Regions from separate parts of the Homo sapiens genome. Here regions 2, 3 and 4 are each linked to region 1. Evidence: promoter capture Hi-C in 16 types of primary human blood cells and fetal thymus (Javierre and others, 2016). All regions are on one chromosome and are shown on one strand. Each heading gives the region's core, a stretch centred on a gene start or on the middle of the fragment in contact. The rest is flanking DNA. Distances are from core to core; before and after follow the strand shown.

The links. Contacts are between HindIII fragments. The CHiCAGO score rates a contact against its expected background, and 5 or more counts as called.
Region 2: the fragment with the promoter of CR1L here is called in contact with the fragment with the promoter of PIGR in region 1 in 7 of 17 cell types (neutrophils, naive CD8 T cells, erythroblasts and 4 more); the score reaches 15.1 in neutrophils.
Region 3: a contact is called between a fragment that was not itself captured here and the fragment with the promoter of PIGR in region 1, in 1 of 17 cell types (neutrophils). The highest score is 7.6, in neutrophils.
Region 4: a contact is called between a fragment that was not itself captured here and the fragment with the promoter of PIGR in region 1, in 2 of 17 cell types (endothelial precursors and erythroblasts). The highest score is 7.3, in endothelial precursors.

The regions. Positions count from the first base shown.
Region 1 is chr1:206,941,975-206,949,865 of GRCh38, forward strand. It overlaps PIGR (polymeric immunoglobulin receptor), which reads right to left and starts at 4,492. Exons shown (of 11, transcript NM_002644.4): 1 at 4,362-4,492. The HindIII fragment of the contact is 20,587 bases long and covers 1-7,891 here.
Region 2 is chr1:207,640,232-207,648,122 of GRCh38, forward strand. It overlaps CR1L (complement C3b/C4b receptor 1 like), which reads left to right and starts at 4,902. Exons shown (of 12, transcript NM_175710.2): 1 at 4,902-5,099. The coding sequence starts at 5,003. It overlaps CR1 (complement C3b/C4b receptor 1 (Knops blood group)), which reads left to right. Exons shown (of 47, transcript NM_000651.6): 47 at 1-1,534. It also overlaps the pseudogene CD46P1. RefSeq lists a silencer at 4,702-4,871 and an enhancer at 4,932-5,011. The HindIII fragment of the contact is 2,525 bases long and covers 2,767-5,291 here.
Region 3 is chr1:207,502,677-207,510,567 of GRCh38, forward strand. It overlaps CR1 (complement C3b/C4b receptor 1 (Knops blood group)), which reads left to right. Exons shown (of 47, transcript NM_000651.6): 2 at 3,228-3,407; 3 at 4,038-4,137. Among named protein-coding and RNA genes, the nearest start is that of CR1, 10 kb to the left of the region's middle. The HindIII fragment of the contact is 8,653 bases long and covers 1-7,709 here.
Region 4 is chr1:207,482,411-207,490,301 of GRCh38, forward strand. CR2 (complement C3d receptor 2) reads left to right here. Exons shown (of 20, transcript NM_001006658.3): 19 at 3,054-3,162; 20 at 6,732-7,482. The coding sequence ends at 3,144. Among named protein-coding and RNA genes, the nearest start is that of CR1, 9.8 kb to the right of the region's middle. The HindIII fragment of the contact is 1,036 bases long and covers 3,084-4,119 here.

The sequences.
Region 1 (7,891 bases), core at 3,242-5,741:
CTGGCCCCTGCTCCTGCTCCCAGACTCCCTTCACCAGCTTGAGCCAAAGGCAATAGAGTTGTTTATCTTGGTTATTTCTTTGTTGCAGGGGAATTTCCCAGCAAGGAACCTTTTATTTCCTTGTGAATATAAAGGTATTTTGTTTCTGCAGTTCTTTGGAAGAATAAAGGGAGGGAGTGGGAACAAATATGGGTGTCAGATGGCAACGTTGAGGCTCTCTTGAGTCCGGTTAATTGCCCCAGACCTTTCTTACCAGGTCAATGATTAATGCCTGGAGTGGGGCCTTGGCCAAATACCAGTCAGCTCCAACATGGAAGCAATCAGGGGACACTAGCTGGGATGTCATCACCTGCGTGGGCACTGCAAGCTGCCATGGGAGATGCTCCCAGGTGGGAGCAGCTTTCAGGAGGCCAGGAAGTCTCAGAAACAGTTGGGATGGGCTGGCTGCAAAGTCCTGGGAGATCTACCATTTTCTACTTGTGCTGGCACAGGGTGGGTGCAGTCACAGGTGGGAGGACAAAATGCTGCCTGCTTTTAAGAACCCACACCAGCAGCAGCTGTCCTTGCTTCTTGTTCCTGTCCTCACCTCTAGATAAGCAAGCTGCCTCATATTTGCGTGAGACAGGAGTGGTCTTCCCACAAGCTGAGCTGGGGGATGCAGCCCTCCTCTGGACTTGGCCTGGGTTGCAGAGAGTCAGATGCCAGCTTCTCCAAGGTGAAGACCACCCTGACCTCTGTCCCAGACTTCTCATTTTGTGACATGTTTGGGTGGCTGTGCATGTTTGTGTAGAGAGGGGACATGTGTGTGCACCCATTACCCTCTGCATGGTCTCAAGCCAGGGATGAGAGCATCAGGCATGCACAGGCAGGTCGGGCAGATGGCAACATCAGCGGGATGCACACAGTCCAGTCCTAGATGGGATGATTGGCAGGAGAGGATACCCCTGCTTTCAGGAACAGGAGCTCTTCTTTGCCCAAAGCTAAAACTTGAAGCACAATTTCTCTAGTAGCATTTGAAAGGACCTCGAGCTTTCAGAATCATTACAGACCCCTTCCTCTCAAAACCAGAGACTTTCTTCCAAACCTGGGGATTCAAATCTCGGGAGACCTCCCCAGCCCAGGGTGGCTGGGGCTGGATTTAAAGGATTTGCTTAAGGAAGGAAGAAAAAGAACATAATGTTGGGCACCTGCTACGTGCCAAATGCTTTGCTAGGTTCTTTTCTTGTAAGACTTCATCCATCAGCACAACAACCCAAGAGATAGATGTTGTTATCCTCATGACACAGGTTGGAAATCTAAGGGTTATAGGGATTCTCGACCCCAAGACCCACAGCAGAATCCTAATTTGAGGTCACTACCCCATTATCACTCTTTAAATGAGCAAAGGGACCTGCTTTATTGGGTTTTATATATATGATATTATATCATGCATGAGGGCACGTTTTCTGGTCCTTAAACTAGCAGTTGTTTTTTCACTGCTGAGGCTAGGATGTGCTAGATCATTTTCAGTTTACTAAGTTAGTATCCCAACATATGTGTAACATATGTCCCCACAATTGTGGATTGGGGCAGGAGTGTAAGCTGTGCTGAAGGATAGTTTTTCTTTTTATAAAATGTATTTAACTAGCTCCTGTTCAGTTAAAGTGACTGCACTTCATCTCTCATGGTGTGGAGTCCAAACCTTTGTCCATCTAATCTCAGGTTTCCCTCTTTTTCAGAGGAAGAAAGGTCCCCTGGACTTGGTATGAGAGTAGAAGTCTGCTTGCTGGACATCCTTTGAAGATAGAGAGATGGAGAGTGAGCTACTTAGGTTGGACTCATGTGGATAAGAGAGGAGACAAGCACTATGGGCTAGGCTAGAAGAACGTACGCTGAGTCCTTTCCAGGTGCTTTACATGTGTTAATGTGTTCCATTTTTACAGCCACCATAGGAGATGGGACAAAATGGGCAACCCCATTTCATGAGTGAGATAATTGAGGCACAGAGAGGTGAGACATTTGCCCAAGGTTGCACAGTTGGTAAGTGACTTAGATGGGATTCTAGATCAAGAGCATAGGCCCTTAGCCACTCTGCTTTACCTCAGAGGGTCTTCCTATTGAGAGGAAGCAGTGGAGAGAGGAAGAAGCAGGATATTCAATCTTAGCGAACTGAGAATTTGTTCAGTTCTTTCCTCTCTGCCTTTCACGGAAAAGGCAGTTCTTATAAGGAGACACCTGGGGCCGGGCGTAGTGGCTCACGCCTGTAATCCCAGCACCTTGGGAGGCTGAGGTGGGTGGATCATGAGGTCAGGAGTTCAAGACCAGCCTGGCCAACATGGTAAAACCCCATCTGTACTAAAAGTGCAAAAGTTAGCTGGGTGTGGTGGCATGGGTCTGTAATCCCAGCTACTCAGGAGGCTGAGGTAGGAGAATCGCTGGAACCCAGGAGGTGGAGGTTGCAGTAAGCCAAGATCACGCCACTGCATTCCAGCCTGGGTGACAGGGCAAGATTCCATCTCAAAAAAATAAAAAATTAAAAAATGAAGAGACACCTGGACCCAGAGGTAGGTGCCAACAGAGAAATTTCTTCCTGGAAAATATTAGCTGCTATTTATTTAGCACCTACCATGTGTAGGATATGTTACATAACCATGGGTATAACCAGGCATGTTGACGCCAAAGCCTCTTTCCACTCCACCATACTGTGTCGATGCCAGTGACATTGGGACTCCAGCCCCAGCCCCTCCAGAGAGAGGGCAAGACATAGATGAAGGTCTCTGCTGAGCACAATGCATAGGTATTTTTTTTTAAGTTGGATAGTTTGCTTTTTAGGTGACATCAAAATGTCCTCATGACCATATCAAAATGGCTGTACCAAAACCTCATCGTTCAAACTTGCTGGTGACTTCACACCACTCACATAGACTCACGGTGTCTTGGTTTCCTCAACTAGGGAATGACATCACAAAACCAACCCTGCCTACCTCCTCGTTGGTATCAAGGGAGAATGAGACGAAGGTGTGAAAGCCCAGGGCAAGTGGGTTTACTAAATGGAAGCCTGTGTGACCCCATTTTTTATCACCTAAAGCCACAGAGGTCTAGCGGCACTAGGAGATAAGCAGAGAGAGTTGCTTTCCTGACTCCTGGCTCAGTGTTCTTTCTGCTACTTTAGCACATCCAGGGGCGGGACAAGGATGGAGAGAGAATTCCAGATCTGGCTCTGGGAAGACCTATGTCCAGGCACCAGACAGCTGCCTTCTACCTAAACCCCTGAAATTGGCATCTCCTCTCCAGATGTTAAAGGATCTATAATTCCCCTAGTGAAGGGGGAAAGTGATGGCACAAAATAGGAGCAGCTTCAATGGCCCCAGGCACTGTGGCAATTGCACAAAGGGAACTGGGGGTCAGGGATGGAGCTTGACCCGCTGCTGCCCTTGTGCCGGACGGTCCCACTGCTGGCTTGGGCTGCTGTCAGGATGGGCAAAGGGAGGGGAAGCCCATGTCTGAGATCTGCTGGCTGCAGAGCCAGGAGGAACAGCAGGAGTTGATCATGCTGCCTGTGGGGCTCAGCTCCACCTCACTCAGTGATCCCGTGAGGACCTCTTTTTTTCTACCTCTAGGAAGGGCAGGATGATGCGATGACACACATTTATGTCTCCCATGGCAGGAATCTGCTAGAGCAAAGCGAGGTGGAATTGCAAAGGATTTCAGAGGTTCTTGGAAGCCCAGAAAAAAGGAGCTGAACATGCCTTTGCCAGAAAGCCACAAGTGGGAAACCTCAAAGAATGGAAGAGGACTTGCTAGGTGCCATACTTTATGCGCACTATCTAATTCCAGGTCTGTTGGTGTTCAATAAATCCTTGATTAATTAAACTAAACTGAAAAATATGAAACAATTCCTATTTCATTCTAGAGGTTACAAAGCTATTTCACCTGTGTTTTCTCATTTGAACCCACATTGACCCTGAATGATAGGTGTTATTTCTATCTTTGTTTTACAGATTAAGAAACTGAGGATCAGAGAGGTTAGGTGGCTTGTCTAAGGCCACACAGTTAATCAACTATGAGGAGTTAGGAAATCCAGGCACAGACCAAGCTGAAAGAGTAGAATTACATATGCTGACCACAGAGGTCCCTTCCCACCTGCTGATATTTCTCAGAAAAGGATGGGGGGCTTCCACACACGTGCATCCCTACTCGTCCCACTGCGATATGCACGCTTACTCCCCAGCCACACACAGTCACACAGTCTGCCTCCTTGTCCTTGTCACCCCACTATCTAGGAGACTGGGAGTTGGGAATGGAGGGGGTTACCTGAGCCATCGTCCCGAGCCCTTTCCAGATAGCATCCCGTCTGGGGATCCCAGAGCAGTAACACTTACTTTTAGCCACTTCCTTCTCTCCCGTTGATCTGACTTCAGGGACACAGCCTGCTGGCCAGTTGGTAACCCCTGCCTCTCTAGGAGCTACTGGCAGGGCACTGGACGCTGCTGCCAAAACTGAAACTCTGCTCAGTGTTTGACCCACACCTGGGCTCTTAAAGGGCCACTCTCCCACAGGCACCGTGGCCAGCCAGGGTCATGTGACTCTCACAGATCCCTTGCTTTCCTTTCATTTTGGCCTTCCTGGCTGGCTCCATTTGGTTTCCTTTGACCTTGGGGAGACTCTGTTACTTGGGAATCCTCCATCGTTGCAGCTTCAGGATGAGGGACAGAATGTCAAGCGTGAAGATGCTGTTCTGTCGCTTTCTAGCTGCAAGACCTTTGGCAAGTCACCTTCCTATTTCTTTTCATCTGGAAAAGAGGGATGGTAATACCAAATCTACAGGTAGAGGATATAGCCCGGTATTAGCTCTAAAATACCTGGCCCAATGCTTGATTTGAAGTTGACATCATCTGATGGGGCACAGGTGGCAGGAGTGGCTGTCGTAGTCCTTGGTCTCATATCCCCAGTTGCTCTGGAATCCCCTCCGACTCCCTAGGTTACTTAGCCTGGACAAAAATGCCCCTTATACACCTCCTGCCAAGCCCCTTTTACCAGTCCCAGAGCTCCAGGAACTGGCAGGACTGTGGCCCTTCCTGTTTCACTCCCCAGAGTCATGAAAGACTCGCTGCTTCTGGGCTCCCCTGAACATGGCTGACCTCAGAGTCTTGTTAGGACCCGGGCTCGGCTCCATAGCAAGGACGGTGCTGACCTGCTGAGCTGAAGTAGCACCTCCTTCCCTATCTGTTAGTCCATGCCAAAACATGACCTGGTTGGGACTCCCAGGTGTTCCCCAAATGATCGTGGCAGTCCTGTGACAAAAGTGAAGCCCACTCCCCAACACACACGTGTATGGCCCCCCGACCCCTCACTGCAAACCCCCACAGAAATGCTGCCCATCCTACCTGTGCAGGGCTGACCCAGGCTCTCCCTACAGAGTCCTATAGGCCAAACACCAGAAGGGGAAGGAAAAATAGAGAAATAGAGCCCTGGAGAAACACAAGGCAGCCAGAGCCCTGGGTCTTATTTTAGCTAACCACTGGCTCACTTGTGGGTGTTAACACACAATCACAGATTTCAATGGCAAGCAAAAAAACCCCATAATTTCTTTATGTAGCTTAATTTCTCTCTTTTTTTGTGGTTTGCAAACTTAGATTTTCTTTTTTTATTTTGTTTTAGGTTCCAGGATTACATGTGCAGAACGTGCAGGTTTGTGACACAGGTAAACGTGTGCCATGATGGTTTCCTGCACCCGTCAACCCACCACCTAGGTATTAAGCCCCACATGCATTAGCTATTAGTTCTAATGCTCTCCCTCCCCCCACCCCCCCCAACAGGCCCGGATGTGTAATGTTCCCCTCCCTGTGTCCGTGTGTTCTCATTGTTCAGCTCCCATTTATGAGTGAGAACATGTGGTGTTTGGTTTTCTGTTCCTGTGTTAGTTTGATGAGGATGATGGCTTCCAGATGTAGCTTAATTTCAAACCCTAAACCCATAATCTGACTGATAAAAGAAAACAAGTTACCTAGTCACTTCTAGGCAAGCTCAGCCCAATTCAGTGATCTCTCAGTCACTTCACTCCAGATTTAAAATTTAGCCTCATTATGGAGTTCCCTTCCTTTTTGTCTCCCTTCTCTCCCCTGGGGTCCAGTCTGGAGAGAGCGGTCTTGGGTGAGGGGGTGGTCAATGTTACTGCTGAGGCAGTGAAAAGGGGTGGCCCATTATTATTTTGGTCTTGCTTTGTCACGATGCTGTGCTGGCCTTGGGCTCCAGAAGGAAATAGTTTTGTCTACTGAGATGTGACTTCCCCTGCTTGGTCAGTGGGCTTTGTCCCTGCTCATCCTGAGGGTTCTGTGGTCCACACTGTGCCCTCCTAGTCCATACACTGAGCTCCCTGGGGTGGGTCTTCCAGGCCCTCAGCCTCTCCTTGCCCACCTTGTGGGTGCAGGGTGAGTTTGGCTGATCACAGACTCCTGAGGCCTTTGGGAGATCCTGTGCAGCAGAGTCACATTTTCCCCCAACACTCTTGTAACCTCCTGTGTGCCAGTGTTCCCATATAATTGGGGGTACAATGGATATCAGCAAGACTGTGGACCACCAAAGTTCTCTACAGGATGGGCGAAGGTGAGGGCCCCTCAATCTGGAGTTTTCAAGCCCACCTGGATATCTCTATCATTGTTAATCCCCTCTCCCCTACTGTAGCCTGGACTCTGCCCCATGGTGGTGGGTGGGAGGGCACCAAGACACATCAGTAACTAAGCTCTCCTTTTTACTCTTCAGCAGTCTTTCTCCTCCCCAGTTCTGGGGTTAATGTCTAGCAGGAGGATGCGAGGGGAGACAAGATATGCAGGTGCAGAGATGAGACAAGCCTGGTTCTGTCAGATTATAGCTCCTTTCAAAGGATTCCCGATTTATACCTCTCTCCATTTGAACTCAATAGTCAAAATATTTGTAGGGTTTGTTTCTTCCTTCCCAAAGCAAGAAATAAGTTGTGTCCAGTTGTCCAGGCTGGAGTAGAAGTCAAGGCAGGTTCACAGAACACTAGTGCAGAAATTTGACGAGCAAAGGCTTGCAGGGAGGAAGGGGAGAACACTCATTAAATCATTTCTTCTCATGCTGCCTTGGTGGGCGTGGAGGACAGGTTGCAGATTTCCTTCCCTGCTTTGCTATTTCATGATGGTGGGTAATTTACTAGATCATGTCCTGCTGCATGTTTTCAATAGTCTCCAAAACTGTCTTAGCTGACCCATGTCAGACACACACACATACACATACACACACACACACCCCACATACCTGGAGCCCACTGATCCTACTGATCCAGTTTACAGAAAGGGGAAAATGAGAAGTAGAGCCCTGGGAAGAGGCAGGGAGTCAAAAATCCTACGTCCTATTCTGGGCTCAGCCACACGCCGGTGGTGTGATTGGACTCACTTGCTTCCCCTCTCGCACTGTGGTTTCCCCATCTGGAACCCAGTGGCCCTAAAATAGTACTATTTCTCAGCCCTGGGGGAGGAGGGACAGGCCAAGAGAGTCCATTGCCCAAATCAATAATAATGATGATAACAGCAGTGATTATACTTTCCAAACTTACAACACTTCATCTGCTCAACCCTCCCTGCTTCTTTTAAAGTAATCATACAAGAAAATATACCAGCAGAAGAACAGCTTCTCACTGGACTTTCCTGACTCTGGGACTCAGCATAAGTCACTGTGGAACACCTTTGTTTTGTTCCTGATTCTGCCTCTAATTGCCGAGTGACCTTTGCCAGATCACTTCATCCTGTAGGTCTGCAGGATTGTTTGTTCCATCAGAGGACAGTGCCAAATTGTTCCCAAGGCTCTTTCAGTTCTAGGATTCTGTGTTTTGGTTGAGCACCGTATTAGTTTCTGACAGCTGCTATAACAAATTAACACAACTTTAGTGGCT
Region 2 (7,891 bases), core at 3,652-6,151, 700 kb after region 1:
CCTCAGCCTCCTGAGTAGTTGGGATTACCAGTAGATGGGACTACAGGCACCTGCCAACACGCCCGGCTAATTTTTTTGTATTTTTAGTAGAGACGGGGTTTCACCATGTTAGCCAGGATGGTCTGGATCTCCTGACCTCGTGATCCACCTGCCTCGGCCTCCCAAAGTGCTGCGATTACAGGCATGAGCCACCGCGCCTGGCCGCTTTCGATATTTTCTAAACTTTAATTCAAAAGCACTTTGTGCTGTGTTCTATATAAAAAACATAATAAAAATTGAAATGAAAGAATAATTGTTATTATAAAAGTACTAGCTTACTTTTGTATGGATTCAGAATATACTAAATTAACTTTTTAAAACACAACTTTTAAAAAATGTATCAAAATAATAAACGTGTTCTGATATTTTTAAAATAAGTGACCTTGTGTTCTTTAACCAGTCCACATCTTTAGAGAACAAAAATGTGTTATGATATTATGGGCCATGCTAATGACCTCTAGAAAACATCAGAATATTTCTGGATATTTAATAATAGCTTTATATATGACTAATGCTCATTTCTATGTAATTCTGTTTAATAGTTGCTTTAAAGGTGAATTTTGCCACATTTACTTTGACAGCAGTATAAGGAGTGAGATAGACATGAACCTGAATTTCAATTTAAAATCATGGAAGAGAGGGAAAAAAAACCAGCTTAAGAAAAATCAACTGATAAACTGCAAGAAAAAAATGCAACTTACATCACAAAAGCTAATTGCTTTATTATTTAGAGAGTACTTAAAAATTAAAGACCAAACTTCTCTCCACCCAACAAAAATGGGCAAAGGACATACAGCTAGGTCACCAAGAAAGAAGGGCAAATAGGTGGTGAGTATATGTAAAGATACTTGATAGGACTTTTGCTTAGTTGAATCTTTAGCAAATCTCTTTTATTTCTTGGGATTTTGAAGAAGTAATTTTTAAAGGAGGACTAGAAACTAAGTGATTGGGAATTGGCCTTTTTAGAATTAAAATTTCCCATTACAAGAAAAAAAAATCCTGTGTTCTTTTTTTTTTCCAGAATGGAGTAGGTCAGTGAGCAATGTGATTAATAAATATTTCAATGTCTGTGACTTTTGATTTATTTTGGAGACAGGGTCTTGCTCTGTTACCCAGGCTGGAGTGCAGTGGTGCTATCTAGGCTTACTGCAACCTCACCTGTCACTTTTTAATTGCAAGAAAGCTGAAAGGTTTTTTTCTATTATATCAGTTATAATGATAAATACTGTATATACTAACTATGAGTAAAATACTATATTGCCTAACTTGTATTATTAAGCAATTCTGCTAACCTGTGACCTTACATTTTCATCTGAAAAGCAGGGGCTGGACACCAATTGCCCTATGAAGCTATTGCTAGTCCTAACATTCTTTGTTTTGTTTGCTTTTTTGGCACACTTAAGTGTGTACTATGAAGTTTATGATGCTTTAATGAAATTTTCTGTCTCTACCATTGTAATGAGAAAGGAATAAAATACTTTATTTTGCAAATCTACTTATGGAATATAGTTCTGTACCTGATTGTTTTCATAATCCCTGTGTTGATGTGTAATGCCACAGACATGCTCTTGATAGTAACAGGAAAGAAAATCAGACACAGCTAAACATAAAGGTCAGTTGGCTGGCAGGTGCTTAGCAGGTGTAAATAGAGGCCCATTCATGCTGCTCCACTTGCTCCTGAAAAGCATAATGTAAATACAGTATACTAATTAGGAGGCAAAGAACCATCTAACATGGTTCTTTTTTTTTTTTTTTTTTTTTTTTGAGATAAAGTCTTGCTCTGTCACCAGGCTGGAGTGCAGTGGCGCAATCTTGACTCACTGCAACCTCCGCCTCCCAGGTTCAAGCAATTCCCCTGCCTCAGCCTCCTGAGTAGCTGGGACTACAGGTGTGCGCCACCACGCCCAGCTAATTTTTTGTATTTTAGTACAGACGGGGTTTCACCATGTTGGCCAGGATGGTCTAGATCTCCTGACCTCGTGATCTGCCCACCTCGGCCTCCCAAAGTGCTGGGATTACAGGCATGAGCCACCGCGCCCAGCCCTAACATCAAATTTTAAAAGAGTTGGCCACAGTTTAATGACATCCCTGCACACCAGCCTCCACCCATACTGCCCTTCATAAGCCCCTTAAAGGAGATCCCATAGTTCTAAACCGGGTCCACAAACACAGATATCCTCATTCTCTCCTTTTCTTCTCTTTGGCAGTTTGACAAAATCTTTAGGGGGAATTGGAGGAAACATTAATTTCCTAAATCAACTTCATTCAAAGCTTTGGCTTCAAGTTCTACCCGTTAAGGCCTCAGGAAGTTCATTGTCGACATTGAACTCAGTCACTAAAATGACCTCAAGGCTAAGGGATAGACCACAGCTCCACTTCACAAGTAAGCTTGCAACACCTGATTTAGGAAAGTTTGCTGTGCAGACAGTTGTAGCTCATCCATTTTACAGACCGATCTCGATTTGTTTCCTAGGGTCTAAAATTATTTAAATCAAAATCTCTCAGAAATTTCTGGACATTTAATAAATTCATGCTGGAGGAGAACTGGCAGAGATATGTTAAATGCACTTGACCACAAGAACCATTTATTTCATCCAATATTTACCAGCTATTCATTGTACACTTACTACAGATTTTGGCACTGGAGATATTATAAGAAAGCTCTAACCCTGACTTATGGAACTTATCCCAAAAAATAGGAAACAAGGCTCAGAACCATTCAAATGAAGCTTCAGTTAACTCAAATAAAAATTAGTTTTATAAATTTAATGTGAAAGTCTTCGAGTATATTAAGAATGGCTTGATTAACCCCAGGGATGGAAATTTTACTGATTGAAAGAAAGTTTCAATAAAATACCGATCTTTGAATCTAATCTGACACCTGAAACTAGGAAATCAAACACTAGCCATATTTTTTCTTCTATTCTTTATAATAATTTTTCTCATGAGAAAAAGGTATCTTTCTTCCAAGCCTGAAAATAAATGGAGAATTTTTAATATCTATTGATGTGGAGAAAAATAAATAGACTATCTGCTTTCACAAATAAGTGCTGGCATTGAGCCACAGAACATGTCTGTCATATTGCTCTTTCACACCATACATTAACAGGAATAATAATTTCTCCTCATTGAGTTTCCTATTTACTATCCCCTTAATTATACCTCCTTTAATTACTGTCATAGAGTGTCTGAATTTTATAATCCAAGATACTAAGATGTTTATTTGATATACCACCAGACTCAATGTCTTGTATTCTATGCCAAAAATTTGAAAATGTTTGGGAAGAGGAAATTCCGTGGTTTGGTGAACCCAGAAAGTCTTCAGTACATCTCAGTTATAGAACTGTATTAAATACATTTAAACTCTATAATTCCATAAGACCCATTTTAGGTTTATACACTAAGCATCTAATTCCTCACTATCCTCTCATACAAACCCTGTGTAATACAAGTTCTACTCCCATAATTCTATGAACAAAACAACAATTGATACATAGATTTGATTTTTAAAATACATTTTCTTTACCTTATTCTAAATGTAACATAGGGTCAACATAGAAAAAGAAAACTGAAAAGCACAAGGAAAGTGAAATATCTATAATCTTAACCATTGTTAATTTTGTTGTGTTCCAAATTAGTGTATGTATATATATATATATATATATAGCATTTTTGTTTTAATAAAAGGACTGCCAAAATGCACATGCCAATTTGGACTCTGCTTTTTCCACTTACAATGATATCATAGTTTCTCACATTTGGTATTCTTTTGCAATACTTGCTGCATAGAATTCCATCACACAAAGGTAACTGCCTCCTTATTACTTTTGCTAGACACTTAGGGTTTACATTTTTTACAAAAATTATAAATCTTTGATCACAGCTCTGATGATTTCTCTGGGAACTGAGAGCCTAACACAAGTCATTTCCACTTTAAGACTTTTAACATTCTGAAAAGTTATGTTACAAACAGAGTGCTGGTCCCCCTGCAACATGTTCACTCACATTGGCTGACGTTTTAATTCTTTGCCAATCTGAGGGGAAGAGATGTCAACTTTTTTTGTTTGCTCTTTTAATGCCAGTCATGTTCCCTTTTTTTTTCCCCCTTTTACCAGTCATACTGGCTTACTCAGAACCCTACAAATCAATCCTGCTCATTCTTAATTTTCCAACATTGTTCCTGAGATTGTTTCACCAGAAAAGTTCTCCCCCTTATCCACTTCGCCTAACAATTTCTACCCATCCCAATCCTCCTGCATTTATTGCTTCCAGGAATTTGGCACTTAGGACACCCTTGTCCTTACATTGTTCATGCATGTATATTTCGTCTTCAATAAAACATTTAGTTGCTCAAGGGCAAGGGTCCCATAGAGTCTCAATATGCTAACGGCCTGGTGTTGCTTAATAATTTAGATTCTGACGGGTCCTCTCCAGGGAGGGGAGCAAAGGGCAAATTATCTTAGGGGCTGGGAGTGCAGAAGCCAAACCTTTGAGACTGTGAAAAGAAGACGGCGCCGAGACGATTCAGTAGCAGGCATTCAAGCAAGAAAAACTCAAATATTGTTCCCAATAATGCCTGACTAATGCCAAATACCAAGTAAGGGCCCAGGCAGTCCTGACAGCCTGCAGTGCCCCAGGATAAAACTAACCCTGAGGGGTGCTAGCCCACGATAACCCCCTGCCAGGGCTCTGGACACGCCCTGTCTCCTCGAAGGCCAACGGGCTGCCCCTGCGCGCCGAGGCCCCGCCCCGCGGCCCGCCGATTGGCCCCAGCCGCCCCGGCGCTAAGACTCAATTTCACACTACGCGCCCAGGCCACGCCCACCTGTCATGCGGCCCTGGAAACTGTGAGTTTGGGGATTGTTGTGTCCACTAACCGGACTCAGAAGGGACTTCCCTGCTCGGCTGGCTTTCGGTTTCTCTGCTCACCTCCGGATAAATCACGGGGTCTCCCGCGCCGCTCATGGCGCCTCCCGTCCGTCTCGAGCGTCCCTTTCCTTCCCGGCGCTTTCCTGGGTTGCTTCTGGCGGCCCTGGTGTTGCTGCTGTCCTCCTTCTCCGGTAGGACCCCGGGGTGGATTCGCGCGTCCGCGGCGAGGCTAGAGCTCTGCTCAGTCAGTCGGGCAGGAGGCGCGGGGCGAAGCTCACTGCACGTCGTGCCTGCTTGGGATAGAGAGCGAGGCCAGGGTTCTCCGAGGGGTGCCGTGCTCAGATCCCGGGGGTATGTGGCGGGGGATGCGGGAACCACGCAGAAGCTTGTTTGGTGGCATCGTGTGCGCGGCCGACATTTACGCAGGATCTGGCTGCGTTCCCAAAAGAAGCGTGAATCGTGTTTTCGGGATTGAGCCCAGTCAGCAAGGGGAGGGCTTACTGGGCGCCCCAGGTGAGGGCTTGCTCTGGAGTGCACAGGTGCGTGGGATTGTTGCTAGAGCCCGTGCTGTGCCCGTGGTGAGAGTTTGCCCTGTGTTCCCTTGGTGCCTTGGTGAGTAGGGTGTTCATTAGGGCTTGGACAGTACCCGCGGTAAGGGTTGCAGTGCGTCTGCTGTGCCCCATGGGCTGGGCTGGCCTGGGCTGGGCTGGGCGAGCAGGGGCCTGGCCAGGTGTTGCTGGGAGCGTGCTGTGCGCAAGTGGCCTGTGTGCGGAGTTCACTGTGGGCAAGACAGCTCACTGTTTGCTTTGAGTGGAGCGAGCGCGGACTCTGCGGCTAGGGAGGGCATGTTGAGTGAGAGCAGGCTCTCAGTGCCTGGGGTTAGAGAGGTGGTAAGGGCGCACCATGCTTTTAGTGCCTTCTGTGAACAGTGTCCGTGTTGCCTGAGATCGTATTGGTCTTGAATTTTAAGTGGCTGCTTTTTTGGGGGGTGGGTGGGCCATCGAGTCATCTTCCTGTTCCCAACCAATATAGACAGTATCTGATTCCATTGCCTAGTGGCTTTTTGACATTGTTTTCCTTCTTTTCATTAGTTTGAGTCATATTTGAGAGATGTGAAGCAACCTAAAAAACACTGGTAGCCAAACCTAGTGAGAAATTAGTATCCTAACAAAGGAAGGCAGATAATGTTAATCTTGTTTTCCCCTACAGCTCATAAACTGAAGCTTAAGGCCTATCCCACTGTTTTGTATTTCATTGAATGGAATCAATATTTTTAAAAATGCATGCTAGGCCAGGCCCAGTTGCTCACACCTGTGATCCCAGCACTTTGGGAGGCCCAAGTTGGGTGATTGCTTAAGCCCAGGAGTTCAAGATCAGCCTGGACAACATGTCAAAACCCCATGTCTACAAAAAATAAAAAAATTAGATGGGCATGGTGGTGTATGCCCGTGGTCCCAACTACTCCAGAGGCTGAGGTGGGAGGATCGCTTGAGCCCAGGAGGAGAAGACTGCAGTGAGCTGTGATCATGCCACTGCACTCCAGCCTGGATGACAGTGTGAGACCCTGTCTCAAAAAAAAAAAAAAAAAAAAAAAAAGCCAAAAAATACATGCTTAAATACAGGCTTATTGTGCAAAATGAACAAAATAAAAGGACAACTGTTTTTAATATTTTGTTATATTTCCTTCTGACTTTATTGTGTTTCATGTGTATCTATGTCCAAATTATATTTAGGATCTTATTCCATGTACAGATTGTACGTTGCATTTCTTCTCTTAGGAACATTCATTCAACAAATATGGGTCTTGTATGTCTGGTGCTGTTACACTAGTAGGTAATAACAGACAATTCCTATTTTCTTTATCCTTTTTTTACTATTTGTTTACACACACGTACATGCAGGAAGATAAGCAGGGACTTTTTTTGCTCATTGTTAAGTGCTTAATGCCGGGAACACAGTAGGCAATCAACAGATGTTTGCTAAAATGTATTGGGAGTGGCAGACATTAACCAAAACATAATAGTAACAAATATATTAACCAGGGAAGTGTTCTGGAGGAAAGGAGTATAATTTTCTGACAGCATTTAACAAATGACTGGGGGGAGGGAAGGCTTTGCTTCTCATCAAACAGACAAAACTCTGCCACTTTGGGGCATCTGTGCTTTCTGTTCCCTCAGTCCTGGAACGTTCTCCCCATGACCTGCTGCATAAATGGGCTGTTTCTTCTGCAAGCTCAGCTGGAATGTTACCGCTTCAGAGACCTTCTTGGAACCCCCCAACTCAGGTTGAACACATACAACCCAGTTCAAGTACCTCTTGTAATCACCCTTTTAAAGTGATCTTTTCTGTTCTCTGTCTCTCCCCATCAGAATGCAGGAATCTTCTGTCTTCCCCCATTTGTGGTTCCAAAAGCCCCATTTGTTTGCTTCTGTATGAACCCTAACTCAGTATCCATATAGACATCTGTTAAATATCAGAAAATTAAATATACTATTTGGCTGGGGCTTAGAGCCTAGGAAAAAGTCCCTCCTGCCTCCAAGAGGAAGGTTCTTTAAAGAGCTATGCTCAGGATGGTCTTTCTGTTGTACCTAAAAAGCTAGGGCAGCAGCAGCTGAGGGCCAGAAAGGATCTGTCTCCCCTGTTTATGTTGACTCTGCAGGGCTTCCAGTACTTCAGTCTTGCATCTCACTGATCATTAAAACGTTCATTTTGAAGGAGGGTGATGGGATTAGGGAGCAGTGGTGTTAAGAAGAAAACGAAAGGACTTTTTTTTCTTTTTAAAGATTAATGTTTAGAATAGGCTTAGTACTAGAAGTACATACAGCCTGGGCATCATAAGGAGAGCCCACCTCTACAGAATATTAAAAACAAAAAATTAGCCAGGTGTGATGTTGCATGCCTGTGGTCCCAGCTACTTGGGAGGCTGAAGGGCGTGAAGGGGGAGGATCACTGGAGCCCCCATGGTCAAGGCTGCAGTGAGCCC
Region 3 (7,891 bases), core at 2,133-4,632, 560 kb after region 1:
TGTGATGATGGATACAGGCTGTCTGGGAAAAATAAGTAAGAAATATGAGCTTTCTTGGAGCATCATCCTTTGCTTCAGTAGAAAGCACAGAGTTAGGCTTCCAATTCTGACTAAAGCCATTGACAACAGGGAAAAGGCAACCTTAGGAATTCTCCTCTCTGTCCGGGGTCCCGTGGGCACTATGATGGAGCTCATGAGATGCAGATGAGAAGTCCCAGGCTGAATCCGGGGCACATTCACTCAGGAGAGCTGAGGTCACCAGTCACTGAGGTCATCCAGTGCATTCCCGACAGCATAGGCTCATTCCAAGCTAGTTCTGCAAAGGAGCAGAAAATGAACTCTTGGAAGCAAAGCAAGCACTCCCACTTTAGCGGAATAATCGAATTTAACTCTTAGAAGTCCCCTTACCCTTTTCTAAGGGTAATAATCGTAAGTATAATTTATGAAGTGCCTTCTGTGTATGTGGCAGCATATACTACTTTTGATTCTCCCTGCAAACCTGGTAGGAAAATATTATTCCCTTTATGAAGATGAAACTGAGGCTCAGCAAGATTAAGCGGTTTGCCTAAGACCTCATAGCCACTAAGTAGAAGACATTGGGTTCAAGATTCAATCTATGAACCCAACATTTTTAATACTATATACCATTCTCTTTTTGTATTAATTTCCTATTGCTGCTGTAACAAATTTCCACAAACTTAGTGGCTTAAGACAACAGAAATGTATTCTCTTCCAGTTCTGGAGGCTGACGTCTAAAATAGATCCATAGGGCTGTGTTCCTTGTGGAGGCTCCAGGGGAGCAGGGGTTTTCTTGCTCTTTCCAGCTTCCAGGGGCTGCTTCCGTCCTTTGGCTCTTGGCCTCCTTCCTCTACCTTCCAAACCAGCACCATAGTGTCTCTGAATATCCTTCTTCTGTCTCCTTTCACCCTCTTGCCTCCCTTTTATAAGGACCCTTGTGATCACATTTAAGGTCCACCTAGATAACCCAGGATAATCTGCCCATCTCAAGATTCTTAATCACATCTGCAAAGCCCTTTAACCATTACAGGTAACAATCACAGGCTTCAGGGATCAGAACATGGATATCTCTGAGAGGTCCTTACTTAGCCTACCACACCTTTCCATATAGATTCTCAAAATTTTAGCTGAGCCTAATAAGGGAGTTCATTACCATTAGGGTCCGGTTTAGTAGCAAGTGCTTCCTTTAAGTGAAAAGGTGAAAGTTGTCCACTTAATAAGGAAAGAAAAACATTGTATGTTGAAGTTGCTAAGACCTAAGGTAAGAAGGAATCTTCTATCGATGAAATTGTGAAGAAGGAAAAATAAATTTGTGCTAGTTTTGCTGTCACACTTCAAACTGCAAAAGTTACAACCACAGTGCATGCTAAGTGCTTAGCTAAGAGGGGAAAGGCATTAAATTTGTGGGCGGAAGAGGTGAACAGAAATGTGTTCTAATTGACAGCTGTCAGGTTTGGTACTATCTGAGGTTTTGGGTATCGGCTAATGTCTTGGAACATGTCCCCCAAAGATAAGTGGGTGACTACTGTATATTCAAAATAAGCATTTATATACTGGGGAGTAAATCTCCCATGTTATTTGTGTTTTATTTGTCCCACAAATAAAGTAAACAAAGTAGAATTTTAGGCAAGATTCATTTCTAGAGGCAGAGATATTTTATTATAATAAAGAAGGTTGCTCTACCATAAAATATAGCAATTTAAATTTTTATAATCCTAATAACCTCAAAATATATAAAATAAAAGATGGACAACATTATAAAAAGAAATAGACAAATGTACAATAAATAAAATATTTTAACACAACTCATTATCTAGTAAGACAAGTACTCCCCCCAAAATCAGTAAAGTATCTAGAAGATTTGAATAAATATTAACAGATTGGATTCACTGACCTTGTTACAAGAAAGAATTATACATGATGATAGGAGAGAGGAAGCCACAGCACAGGCACTTACTGATTAACTAAATTTTGAAGCTGTGAAATGCACCTTATCCTTTAGTGAAAGATGATATAAATAGCTTAGTTGCCTTCAAACTGGCAGAGACTTTTTGAATGGATGGATGCTGATTTTTTAAAAAGGAGCCCATTTCTGAGGCATCTTTTAAAGCAGGGGTCCTCAACCCCTGGGCCATAGACTGATACTGTCCAGTGGCCTGTTAGGAAATGGGCAGAACAGTAGGAGGTGAGCAGCCAAGCATTACTGCCTGAGCTCCACCTCCTGTCAGATTAGTGGCAGCATTAGATTCTCATAGGAGCAGAAACCCTATTGTGAACTGTGCATATGAGGGATCTAGGTTGCATGCTCCCTATGAGAATCTAATGACTGATGATCTGAGTGGAACAGTTCCATCTCAAAACCATTTCCCTGCACCCTCCATTCACGGAAAAATTGTCTTCCACAAAACCAGTCCCAGGTGCTAAAAAGGGACTACTGTTGTAAAGGAATAAGTCCCTTTGCTATTATTATTTTTATTAAGATGGAATCTTGCTCTGTCACCCAGGCTGGAGTGCAGTGGCACAGTCTTGGCTCACTGCAACATCTGCCTCCTGGGTTCAAGCAATTCTCCTGCCTCAGCCTCCCAAGTAGCTGTGCACAGGCATGTGTACAGGCAAGTGCAATCATGCTCTGCTAACTTTTTGTATTTTGGGAGAGGCAGTGTTTCACCATGTTGGCCAGCCTGGTCTCAAACTCCTGACCTCAAGTGATCCACCCACCTTGGCCTCTGAAAGTGCTGAAATTACAGGCATGAGCCACCACTCCTGCACCCCTTGGCTATTATTGAAGTGTTCTTTTTCTTTTTTGATCACATCTATGAAGTATATTGGAGAGAAAGAGAAGGTAGAATGGGAATTTCAACAGGGTCACGGTGGCTCACTCCTGTAATCCCAACACTTTGGGAGGCCAAAGTGGGTAGATGACCTGAGGTCAGGAGTCGAGACCAGCCTGGCCAACATGGTAAAACCCCATCTCTACTAAAAATACGAAAATTAGCCAGGTGTGGTGGTGGGCACCTGTAATCCCAGCTACTCAGGAAGCTGAGGTAAGGACAATTGCTTGAACCCAAGAGGCGGAGGTTGCAGTGAGCCAAGATAGCGCCACTGCACTCCAGCCTGGGTGATGGAGCCAGTCTCCGTCTCAAAAAAGAAAAAAAAAAGTATGGTAATTTCTCCATTAACTTTGATGCTTCTATGGTCTTGATCTCCAGGTCAATGCAATGCCCCAGAATGGCTTCCATTTGCCAGGCCTACCAACCTAACTGATGAATTTGAGTTTCCCATTGGGACATATCTGAACTATGAATGCCGCCCTGGTTATTCCGGAAGACCGTTTTCTATCATCTGCCTAAAAAACTCAGTCTGGACTGGTGCTAAGGACAGGTGCAGACGTAAGTAACTCTGGAGTGGGAACCCCCCTGTTAGTCAAACATCTGTAAGATCTGATTCAATTTGTTCAAATTTTGTAACTGAGTTGCATATGACAATTAGTTTGCCAAGGTGCAATACATATGAGAATTATTCTTGTAGATCATACCTTGTTACTGCTTTGAGTTCCTGGCGCCTTCATTAAAAGTTTATTTCATGAGAAACAGTCATTGCAGGACATGATTGAGGGAAAATCCCCATTCACTGGGGGTCTCCCATTTTCATGACTAAAATTAAGTAATGAATGACTTGGGACAAGAAAGAGAAGTGGATTAAATAACTAAAAGATGTGACAATCTTGGGCTTTGAGATCTTTGGATTATACCAGTTGAATTGAATTACAGATAATAACAAAGTTTACATTTTTCTGGGAGGCATAATATGGGGATGAAACAGATCTGAAAGGAAAGTTTTTTTTGAAAGGGAGCTGATCCTGAGGCAGTCTGGTGAGTTTCCTCAAGGTAGCAAAATCTGTGGAACCATCAGAACTGCGTGTGTTCCTCAGTAAGCTACAGGCAGGTTGAGACCTTATGTACTAAAAAAAGTTTTTAGTTTACTCTACTTGGCTCCAAAATTCTGTTTCTTTCCTGTAGGTAAATCATGTCGTAATCCTCCAGATCCTGTGAATGGCATGGTGCATGTGATCAAAGGCATCCAGTTCGGATCCCAAATTAAATATTCTTGTACTAAAGGGTGAGTTGGCATCTCTTGAACCAACATCTCTTGGTTCAAGAGTTCTAACACAGCCTTACTACCTTCTAGTCACATGTCAGAAAGGACAACTAAACTATTACCATCTGCTCTTTAACGGCTTCAACACAGATGTTTAGCTCCTGACTGAAATGAGCAAAGGTATGACAAGATCGGGGGAAAATCATCTGTATCCTTGCTGGAAACCAAGGCAGAGCATATATGAAAAGTGTGGCATTCATTGGGTGGGAAGGAAGAAAATGGGGGAAGAGTATAGTCAAAGCACACAAACAGCCTTAACGCAGAGGGGACATTGCTGGAAGAAAGGGAAGGCCATTGAGTAACTGTGTGAGAGAAATCTTAACGGTCATAGCACAAGTAGTTTGCTAGGGCTGCTGTAACAGAGTACTCCAAAACGGGTGGCTTAACACAAATGAAGTTTTTAAAATTCTGTTCCGGAGGCTGAAAGTGCAAAATCAAGGTGTTGGCAGAGCCATGCTCCCCTCTAAAACCTGTAAGGATGGATCCTTCTTTGCTTCTTCCAGCTTCTGGAGCCCCAGGCCTTCCTTGGCGTGTGGCAGCAGAACTCCCGTTTCTGTCTCTGTCCTCACATGGCCGTCTTCCCTCTGGGTCTGTGTCCTCACATGCTGTTTTCCTGTCTGTGTATGGCTGTGTCGAAAGTGCTCTCTTTTAATAAGGACACCAATCATAATGGATTAGCGCCCACACTAACGACCTCATCTTAACTGGATTGCCTCTCCAAAGACCATATTTCCAAATAAGATCACATTAATAAGCACTGGGGATTAAGACATCAATATATTTCGGGGTAAGGGGGACACAATTCTCATTCATTGCTGGTAGGAATGCAAAATGGTACCATGACTTGGAAAGATAATTTGGCAGTTTTTTATAAAACTAAACATACTCTTACCATGTTATCCAGCAGTTATCCTTCTTGGCATTTATCCAAAGGAATTGAAAACTCATGTTCACACCAAAAAAAAAAGAAATCTGCACACAGATGTTTATAACAGCTTTATTCATAATTGCCAAAACTTGGAAGCAATCAAGATGTCCTTTAGCAAGGGAATGGATAAACTGTGGTACATCCATACAATAGAATATTATTCAATACCAAAAAGAAATGAGCTATCAAGCCATGAAGAGACATAGAGGAACCTTAAATAGTGAACCTTTTTTCACCATCACTAAGTGAAAGAAGCCAATCTGAAAAGGCTACATAACATATGATTCCAACTATATGCCATTCTGGAAAAGGCAAAACTATGGAGACAGTGAAAATATCAGTGGTTGTCAGGGGTTAGGGAAGAAGGGGATGAATCGGAAGAGCACAGAGGATTTTGAGGGTAGTGAAACTACTCTGTATGATGCCATAACAGTAGGTACATGTCATAATAAATTTATCCGAAGTCATATAGTGTACAATACCAAGAGTGGACCCTAACATAAACTATGGACTTGGGGTGGCCATGATGTGTCAGTGTAGGTTCCTCAATTGCGAAAAACGTACCACCCTGGTGAAAGATGTTTATAATAGGGGAGGTTATCCATGTATAGGGGCAGGGAGTACATAGGAAATCTCTGTATCTTCTGTTCATTATTGCTGTGAACCAAAAACTGTGCTAAAACACAAAGTCTATTTTTTAAAACTGCATAGACATAAATACATGGGCATATGTGCATAAACAGACACGCACACAAATAAGTGCAGGTAAAACAGGAAATTTGAACAAAATCTGTGGATTATAACTGTTTCAATATCTTAATGTTGATGTTGCACTATTGTTTTGCAAAATGTTATTATTAGGGGAAAATTGAGTAAATAGTACCTGGGATCTCTCTGTACTATTCCCTGCATGTGAATCTGATTATCTCAAAGTAAAAAGTTTTTTTTTTTTTTAAAGTTCCTACTAAATTTCCAAGGGGATGGGCTTCCCCTCAGATCACTACCCCTTTTCAGGGAGCAATAAAGTAATCTTCCTTGGAATGTAGCAATCTGTAACCAATCAAAATGCTGTAACTATGCATGGTCCCATATGGAAAATATAATCCTGCTAAAATTTCTCTGTCTCTGCCTATGTAAGTGATACCTTATGTCCTCCACTTTGGAGTGCTGACCCCATTCATTTGGAGTTGGTCTCTTCCAGGTGGCTACCCTTAACCTTTGTGCTCAAATAAACTCTATCCTTAAATATATTTTCTGAATCTCATTATTTAAGGTTGAAAATGTGCTAACCTAAATAATTCACAGGATTTGTTTTTTATTCTCATTTTTTCCTAACCTATCCACCTGGTTCAAGGCACATAGATTAAGAAGGAAAATGGAAATGGGACTAATATCCCAGGCTTCACTGTCCCTCTTCGGGGCCCTGGGGAGGAGACTCCCAAAAGTCTAGACATGTTCACCCACATCCTGTATGTGGTTTCTGGAAACGAAATGATCATGGCTTTTCCTGAACCATGGCTTAACTTTGTGAATCCACAACTCTCTCTTCCCCAGGAGATCCAAAAAGGTAGGGTAGGATGTAAAGGCTTCAATCTGTTCAAGTGGATATGAGACTCCCTGGCTCCCCTTACAATAAGTAGCATGGATTTTGTCTCTCTGCCTTACTTCCTCCAAACATTCTGAATGAGAAGTGTTCAAACCACTATTTGTTCAATTGCTTAATCTACTTTGGGACACAAGTTTAATAAATTAAAATATTCTTCTATCTGTTCCCCTTGATCAGTGAACATAAAGTTATCTTTTGACTCATATTTAAAATGTTCAGTATTACAACACTGAACAATAGTATGGAGGAAAAAAAATGCCAACTTAAGTTTGAACTTGCTTCACCATTCCTATCCCAACCCCCATGATTAGAAAATCAAAAAGAACACTTTGAGAAATAACCTCAGTGGGGTCAAAAGCCAGAGGAGCCTCCAGGATCCCTTGTTCCTAAGACAAACAGGCAGGAGGAGGTGCACATATAGGATTGCAGCTGTTCTTCACTTCATTTGTTCACATACTTCATACTTGTGTTTATGTCTGTTGGCAGTGCAATAGAAAATGATTTCATTTTTGGTGGTATACTAGAAGGCATTAAAAAACAAAATAAGGCCGGGTGTGCTGGCTGTAATCCCAGCACTTTGGGAGGCTGAGGTGGGTGGATTACCTGAAGTCAGGAATTCAAGACCAGCCTGGTCAATGTGGTGAAGCCTGTTTCTACTAAAAATGCAAAAATCAGCCGAGTGTGGTGGCAGGCACCTGTAGTCCCAGCAGCTAAGGAGGCTGAGGCAGGAGAATCTCTTGAATCCGGGAGGTGGAGGTTGCAGTGAGCCAAGATCGCACCATTGCACTCCAGCCTTGGCGACAAGAGTGAAAATCTGTCTCAAAAAAAAAGAACAACAACAACAGCAACAACAAAAATCCCAAATGATATTGAAGTCATTAATAATTACATCATAATCACTAGTATAATGTAATAGTGCATCAAGTATCTTCAAAAGCACCCACTGTTCTCTCACTATTTATTTGATCTTCATTTGTCACTGTTTTGTTGTTTGAATAAAGCTTTATGTTGCCAGGTTTTCTTACATACTCATAAAGCAAAGTTCTCAGCTATACCAATAACCATGACTGTTATTTGACATTGCTTCATTCCTTCATGTATAGTACTATCAAGTTTGACCCTACCCTCACTATGACTAGTTTCACCCAACCATCTATCACAACAGAGAGTCTAACGTGAAG
Region 4 (7,891 bases), core at 2,352-4,851, 540 kb after region 1:
TATACATGCATGGCTTTTAAAACATTTGAGCAGTAATGTTAGAGAAATAGAAGTCATGCGAAAAGAGGAATGACCACGTCCATCCATTCTTTTCTTATACAACAATGGCTGAGTGCCTACTATGCCTTAGCACTATACTAGGCTAGAATCACAAAGCCTAGTAGCATATGGCCTCTGTCATCAAGGAGGTCACAGCCTGGTAAAGGAGGACAAGCATGTCGCTAAACAAGTACCATAAAATAACGTCGCCATGGTGGATTATATGATATTTGGTGAGGATGCAAAGCAAATGGTCAATATTTGGGAGTTTTAATCAGGAAAAGTTTCAGCGTGGAAGAGATGTTTCAGGTGAGCCTCAAGAGAGTGTAGACAAGAAGAGAAAGGCATTCCAGACAGAAAGAGCAGTTTGAATAAAGGCCCAGAGGCTTGGCTTTCCATCATGTGTTGTGAGAACTACATAACCCATTTGAAATGGCTGGGAAATAGTGTGTGTGTGATGGTGATTGAAGGCGAAAGTGGCATAGCTTTAGGTGGAGACATGCCATTAAAGAAAAAAAAAAAAAACCCTGACACGTAAATCTTGTGGAAGCTACAGAATACTAATATGTGCAAAGGATACATTTTTAACAAAGCATACCGTCAGGTGTTGGCCTCGGATGTTATGTGTGCATAGGTTCGTGAGTCTTTGTACATGCTAGTGTTAGGGCGGATAATCCAATGAAGTCTTACCAACTCTCAGGTAGCTCCGAGTGGGGAGATGACCAAGTCATGCCACCTAAAACATGTCACCAAAAAGCTCCAGCAAAATTTCTTTCACGTGCCAAGTCCCCTGCATCTATCATTTACCCTGCCACCAGTGCCATCTGATGCCATGGCTCAGTTATGTAATTCCTAGAATAGGCTCAGACATGAAGGGGTTGCACTGAAACTATGTACTGAGGGTATCTACGAACCTGGGCAGTTTGTTCTAGGCTGGAGGCGGGAGGGTGAGGGCTGCCTATGGGGTTCTGGCTGTCCTGTACAGTTAGCGTGTACTTAGAGTGTAGAGTTTACCAGAGTGTGTACCACACAACCCTGCTTTCATGAATGACTTCAGAAAAAAAGGGTGTTCTATGGCAAATAAGATTTGGACATACTGCACACTGTTTTTTTTTCTTGTGGAGAATCACAAGGACCATGAGAATATTTAATAAGAGGTTTTTTGCTATCAAGAGGACAGGATTTCCAGGACTTGGTGACATGCTGGATGTGGGGAGAAGGAGGCACATAGAATGGCTCACATGAAGGCGATGAGGTGGACCCCCTGACTCACTAAAAGAGGAGAGGGGCAGGATTTGTGGGGGAAGATGAGGAGTTCGGTTCTGACCTGGTACTTTGAGGTACTCATGATTTAGGGCTTGGGAGAAGGGTCTGGACTCGGGTGGGTGACACTTAAATCACAATGAAAGCTGTGGAACCAAAAAGAACAGAACAGATAAAAATTGGGATGAGAACAGCCCTCAGAAGAACAGTAATGTTCAAAAGGCAGAAAGTGAAGGAAGAGAGGCAGGGGGAAAACTAGCAGAGAGTAGCGTCACAGAATTCAAGGAGAAAAGGGTCTCAAAAAAAATTAGGGATGTCATTTGCAGGGCCTTCCTCATAGGAAGTCACAAGATAATTTCAGCCAAGAGGCATTAGAAATGTAAATACATAGAAAATACAGTCTCTATCTCTTTCCTTCATGCTACTGAGTTTGCTATCAGAGCACTGCATGTGTATAAAAATTTGCAAATTTGGGGAATGCTTACAAGTGCAAATAATTTATAATATTCCAGTCTAATTATTGTTTATTAATATGATTATATCATGTACTATACTTAAGTGCCTCAACTGATATGAAGCAAACATACCTGTTTAACCAGATTCCTAGTTGCCATTCATTTATTTCCATTTGCTAACCCACTTCAATTGATTTTCCAATAATTGATAAAGACACTTGAATGGCCTGAAATGCTTTTTTAAATGAGATGAGTAATCATTTAAAAATGAATGTCTAGTGACAATATTAAATATTTTGAAAAGCCATCTAAACACTTGAAAGACACTATGCTATTCTTTTCTAGTCATCTAAGATATTGTAACAAAGCTTAAATCTCACATTGACCTAAAAATTACTGTTTTATAATCTTCTTAACATATCTCCTGTACACGGAACTCTTCAATATTCTAGTGAGTGACATGCTGTCAGTGTCTTTAGCAGTATTCTTTCTTCCCCAGTAATTTTGTATTATGTTATTTTAGAGCTTTACATGGTAGTATAATCACATTTTATTGTCTTTTAGTAATTCTGGCAAAGTGGTTTTAGAAGCACAATGAAATATGTGTACTTTCAAAGAAGGAAAGTAAAAACATTCTCTTCAAACTCGTTTAAAGCTTTTAAGTCAGACTAGAACATTGAGTCCCAAAAGGGTAAAGTTATGATCTAAAATAAGAACTTATTTTTGCTTCTTTTCTTCAATTTGGAAGTTGTAGTTGTTAGTCATTAAGCGTCCTGGATCCTAGGGTAAAGCTGCTTAGTGTCAGCCTCTGACTTGAACACTTACAAGCCTAGATCATTCATTTTTTATGTGCCTTTCCAAAAAATGGAGTTACAGTGTTTACACTTCATAGGATAAAAACAATAAAAATGAAATCATCACAGAAAACCAAACACCGTATGTTCTCACTTGTAAATGAAAGTTGAACAATGAGAACATGTGGGCACAGGGAGGGAAACATCATACACTGGGACCTTTCACAGGGTTGGGGGTTAGGGGAGGGATAGTATTAGGAGAAATACCTAATGTAGATGACGGGTTGTTGGGTGCAGCAAACCACCGTGGCACATGTATACCTATGTAACAAACCTGCACATTCTGCACATGTATCCCAGAACTTAAAGTATAATTTAAAAAAATGAAATCATCCACAAAAGTACTTACCATGTGTTGGGAATTATGGAAAGCAAACAACTGCTACATTGAAACATGGTCAATGAGTAAAGATATTACATTTTTCTTTCTTCTTCTGTTTAGCAATTATTATACAGATACAAGCCAGAAAGAAGCTTTTCATTTAGAAGCACGAGAAGTATATTCTGTTGATCCATACAACCCAGCCAGCTGATCAGAAGACAAACTGGTGGTATGTAATGAAATGGAATATTATTAATTTACATATAAAATTTCCTTCAACTTGTATTTATCAATAAGCGTAGCATTCACGGTGTATATACATGCTTCTTACTATTGCACAAGTCTTCAGTAATCATGCATAGCAATTGTTCATTTACCTACTTCATTTTGCCAACTAATGTTCCAATTTTTTAATCCATTCATCCATTCAACAAATATTAAACTAAATAGCAAAACAACTAAGAATAAAATCAATAAGATGATAAGCATTATATAGAGACATAATAAAGCAGGCAAGGGGGATAAAGAGAACAGGGTGGTCGCAAGGGAAGCTCTTACTAAGAGAATGTCATTTGAGAAAAAACTCAAGGGAAGTAAAGAGCCAGGGCCGGCCTTGGTGGCTCACGCCTGTAATCCCAGCACTTTGGGAGGCTGAGGCAGGCAGATCATTTGAGGTCAAGAGTTCGAGACCACTCTGTTCAACATGGTAAAACCCTGTCTCTACTAAAAATACAAAAATTAGCCAAGCGTGGTGGTGTGCACCTGTGGTCCCAGCTACTCGGGAGGCTGAGGCAGGAGAATCACTTGAGCCTAGGAGGCGGAGGTTGCAGTGAGCCAAGACTGCGCCACTGTACCCCAGCCTGGACAACAGAGCAAGACTGCATCTCAAAAAAAAAAAAAAAAAAAAAAAAAAGCCAGCCATGTGGCCATATGAGGGAGGAGGATTCCAGAAAGAACAGTAGGTGCAAAGGCCATAAGGCAGTGTGTGCCAGCTGTGTTGGCGGCACAGCAAGGAGGCCAGTGTGGCCTACAGTTGTAGAGATGAAGTCACAGAGATGGGGGTGGGATGTGGGCGAGAGGATGATCGTACAAAGTCTGCTATGTCATTGTAATGGGATGGTGGGCAGGAGAGGATGATTGTATAAAGTGTGCTAGGTCATGGTAAAGAGATTGGTTTTTATTTGGAAGCTTTTAAGGAGAGGAGCAACACATTCACCTTAACTGCTGTGTTAAGAACAGACTGTAGGAAGCCATGGGTGGAAGATGGGAGTCAATGAGGAGGCTGCTGCAATCATCCAGGCAAGAAATTGTCAGTGGCTACCACCAGGTTGTAAGAAGAGGCCAGATTCTGCATGCAATTTTAAGACAGTGACAGTAGGATTCGTGGATAGTTTGTATCAGAATATGAGAGGAAGAGAGCTGTCAATAATGACACGAGGGCTTTTGCCTAAGCAACTGGAAGGATAGAACTGCCATTAATTACATGATTGAGATTGCAAAGAGCAGGACTGGGGAGAAAAATCAGGAGTTCCACTGTGGAGATGTTAAATGTGGATGTCTAATAGACTTGGCAAGAAGACAGCTGATGTACAAGTCTGTATTTTGGGCAATTGGTCCAGGCTGGAGATAAAAATTTGGGCTTTGTCATCATGTGGTTGTACATAACAAGGAGACTGAATAAGATCTCCGAGAAGTGAAAGAGGCTAGCAAAAAGAAAAGGTCCAAGTACTGAGCCCTGGATCCTCCAACATTAGAAGTCATGGAGTGAGAAGGCACCCACTAAGAAGTGAAGGAGCAGCCTCTGATACTATCCAGAGAAGAACCTTAAAGTCAGGCAAAGAAAGAATTTTAGGGAGGAGGGAGTGATCAACTCTGTCCAGTGTTGCTGGTAGGCCAAAAAAATGAGCCCTGAAAACTGACCATTGAAATTCAGTAGCACAATTTTTTTGCTGTTGTTGTTTGAGACAGGGTCTCACTCTGTCGCCCAGGCTGGAGTGCAGTGGTGTGATCTCAGCTCACTGCAGCCTCTACTTCCTAGGTTCAAGTGATTCTCATGCCTCAGTCTCCTGAGTAGCTGGGATTATAGGCAAGCAGCACAAAATTTGCTGCTGAACTTGACAAGACAGTTTTTGAAGAGAGGAAGGAGGCAGGAGCCTGACTGGACGGAGCTTAAGAGAGAATGAAAGGAGAGAAATTGCAGCTATCAAATACAGACAACTCTTTCTAGGTTTTTTTCTATAAAAAGGAGCAAATAAGTAAAGTGCTAGTAAGAGTAAAACATAAAGTCAACAGAAATATTTTTTAAGATTGGAGAAATAGCAGTTATGCCCTATTCCTACATGATGATGGGAATAATTTAGTAGAAAGGGAAAGAGTGATGGCAGAAAGAGAGAGAAGAATTGCTCGAACAAGGTCTGGGTAAGCTAGGAGGAACAGATTAAGCAGAGGAGCTCCTAGCTGCGTGGGCTTAGTAACAGGAGGGAGGGCAGAATCTGCAGGTGCAGATGAAGGCAGGTTGGGAGCTGTGATGGGGAGTGAACGTGTGGAAGTTCTCTTCCGATGATTCAGTCTTCTCAGTGAATAGAAAGCAAATTATTCAGGTGAGAGTGAGGCTCAGAAAGGAGGTATTAGAGAGTTAAGAAGAAAAAGGAAGGCATTAAATCATCAACTAAGAACTGAAGACTGAATTATAGGGAGTACAGAAAGGCCGACAGGCCACATGAGATGTGCACCTGAGTTTCCCATGAGAAAGTGGGGATGAACATTTGAAGGTTTACTCTGTCCGGGGATTATGTGACAGTCTTTCATGCCTTCTCTTACTTAGCCATCAGTACCACTTTGAAAGGTGGGTGTTCTCCCAAGATAATATCAAGATGAAGAAATAATATCCAAGAAAACCTTGGGCAAGGTCTCAGGGTCAATCATTGGCAAAGGTGGAATGCAAGCTCATGCCTGAGTTTAAACTGCTTTCTCCTACATAATCTAGAAAATAAAGATACCAGCCAGGAGTGGTGGCTCACGTCTGTAAACCCAGCACTTTGGGAGGCCAAGGCAGGCAGATCACGAGTTCAGGAGATCGAGAACATCTTGGCCAACATGGTGAAACCCCGTCTCTACTAAAAATACAAAAATTAGCTGGGTTTGATGGCACGTGCCTGTAATCCCAGCTACTCGGGAGGCTGAGGCAGGAGAATTGCTTGAACCAGGGAGTTGGAGGTTGCAGTGAGCTGAGATCACGCCACTGCACTCCAGCCTGCTGACAGAGCGAGACTCCATCTCAAAATAAAATAAAATAAAAAATATACCACCTCTGTCCTCTTGGAACTTATTTTAATAAGATAAATAAGACCCATAAATATCATAGGTAATAATACATACCATAAACAAGGTATAGAAAATCTGTGATGGCAGTTGAGGAAGAAAAGGTAACCTGCTGCTGGTGAGTCCTGACAGGGGGACCATACTAGTGACCTCTAAATCCAAACCAGTTGAGGTACAGAGTACACCTAGCTCATAAATATTTGTTGAATGAGTTTATGAATGAGAAAGATTAGTACTTTCATTTCTCATTTAGTTTAATTCATGTTTATATGAATGTATATAAAATGTAGTTATTTGTTCCAGAGCATGTTATATGAAGAAAGGCCTTTCAATAGAATGATATCTTCTAATAGACTTGATGCTTTGTTGGTTATACCAGCTGTAACTGGTATGTAAAGAGAATGTTAGCATTATTTAAACTTCGAGTTGCACCGCTGCTATTCATGCTGCCTCCTAAACAGAAATGATCTATTTCAGTGTGCCTCATTGCTTGGAATTCAGCGGAATATTGATTAGAAAGAAACTGCTCTAATATCAGCAAGTCTCTTTATATGGCCTCAAGATCAATGAAATGATGTCATAAGCGATCACTTCCTATATGCACTTATTCTCAAGAAGAACATCTTTATGGTAAAGATGGGAGCCCAGTTTCACTGCCATATACTCTTCAAGGACTTTCTGAAGCCTCACTTATGAGATGCCTGAAGCCAGGCCATGGCTATAAACAATTACATGGCTCTAAAAAGTTTTGCCCTTTTTAAGGAAGGCACTAAAAAGAGCTGTCCTGGTATCTAGACCCATCTTCTTTTTGAAATCAGCATACTCAATGTTACTATCTGCTTTTGGTTATAATGTGTTTTTAATTATCTAAAGTATGAAGCATTTTCTGGGGTTATGATGGCTTTACCTTTATTAGGAAGTATGGTTTTATTTTGATAGTAGCTTCCTCCTCTGGTGGTGTTAATCATTTCATTTTTACCCTTACTTGGTTTGAGTTTCTCTCACATTACTGTATATACTTTGCCTTTCCATAATCACTCAGTGATTGCAATTTGCACAAGTTTTTTTAAATTATGGGAATCAAGATTTAATCCTAGAGATTTGGTGTACAATTCAGGCTTTGGATGTTTCTTTAGCAGTTTTGTGATAAGTTCTAGTTGCTTGTAAAATTTCACTTAATAATGTGTACATTAGTCATTCAATAAATTGTAATTGTAAAGAAAACATACAACACTTGCCTTATTTTGTTTTTTTTTGGAGTCAATGAACTCTTCGATAACAGAGAGTCTTAGGGCTTTAAAGTCCACGATTTAACAGTTATTCATTCAGGATCCCATCACTTGGTCGTTTTAGCCAAACTTTTAACCCACAAATTCAATTTCCTCACCCTCAAGACTTTCTCTTATATTTGTCCAGCCAATACCTTCTCCGGCTCACTCATCCTCTCCCACCACACCCTTGATATAGATATAGCTGTTAATTTTCTCTGTTCCAACATTTAAACTATTGAGAAAATAAAACCTTGCTCACTGGTGACCACAAATTTACTCTGTACCTTCCCCTAGACTAGGTATGCTGTTCAGCATCTGTTTTTTTTCTGTTTTTTAAAATTGTGATTAAAAACACATAAAATTTAC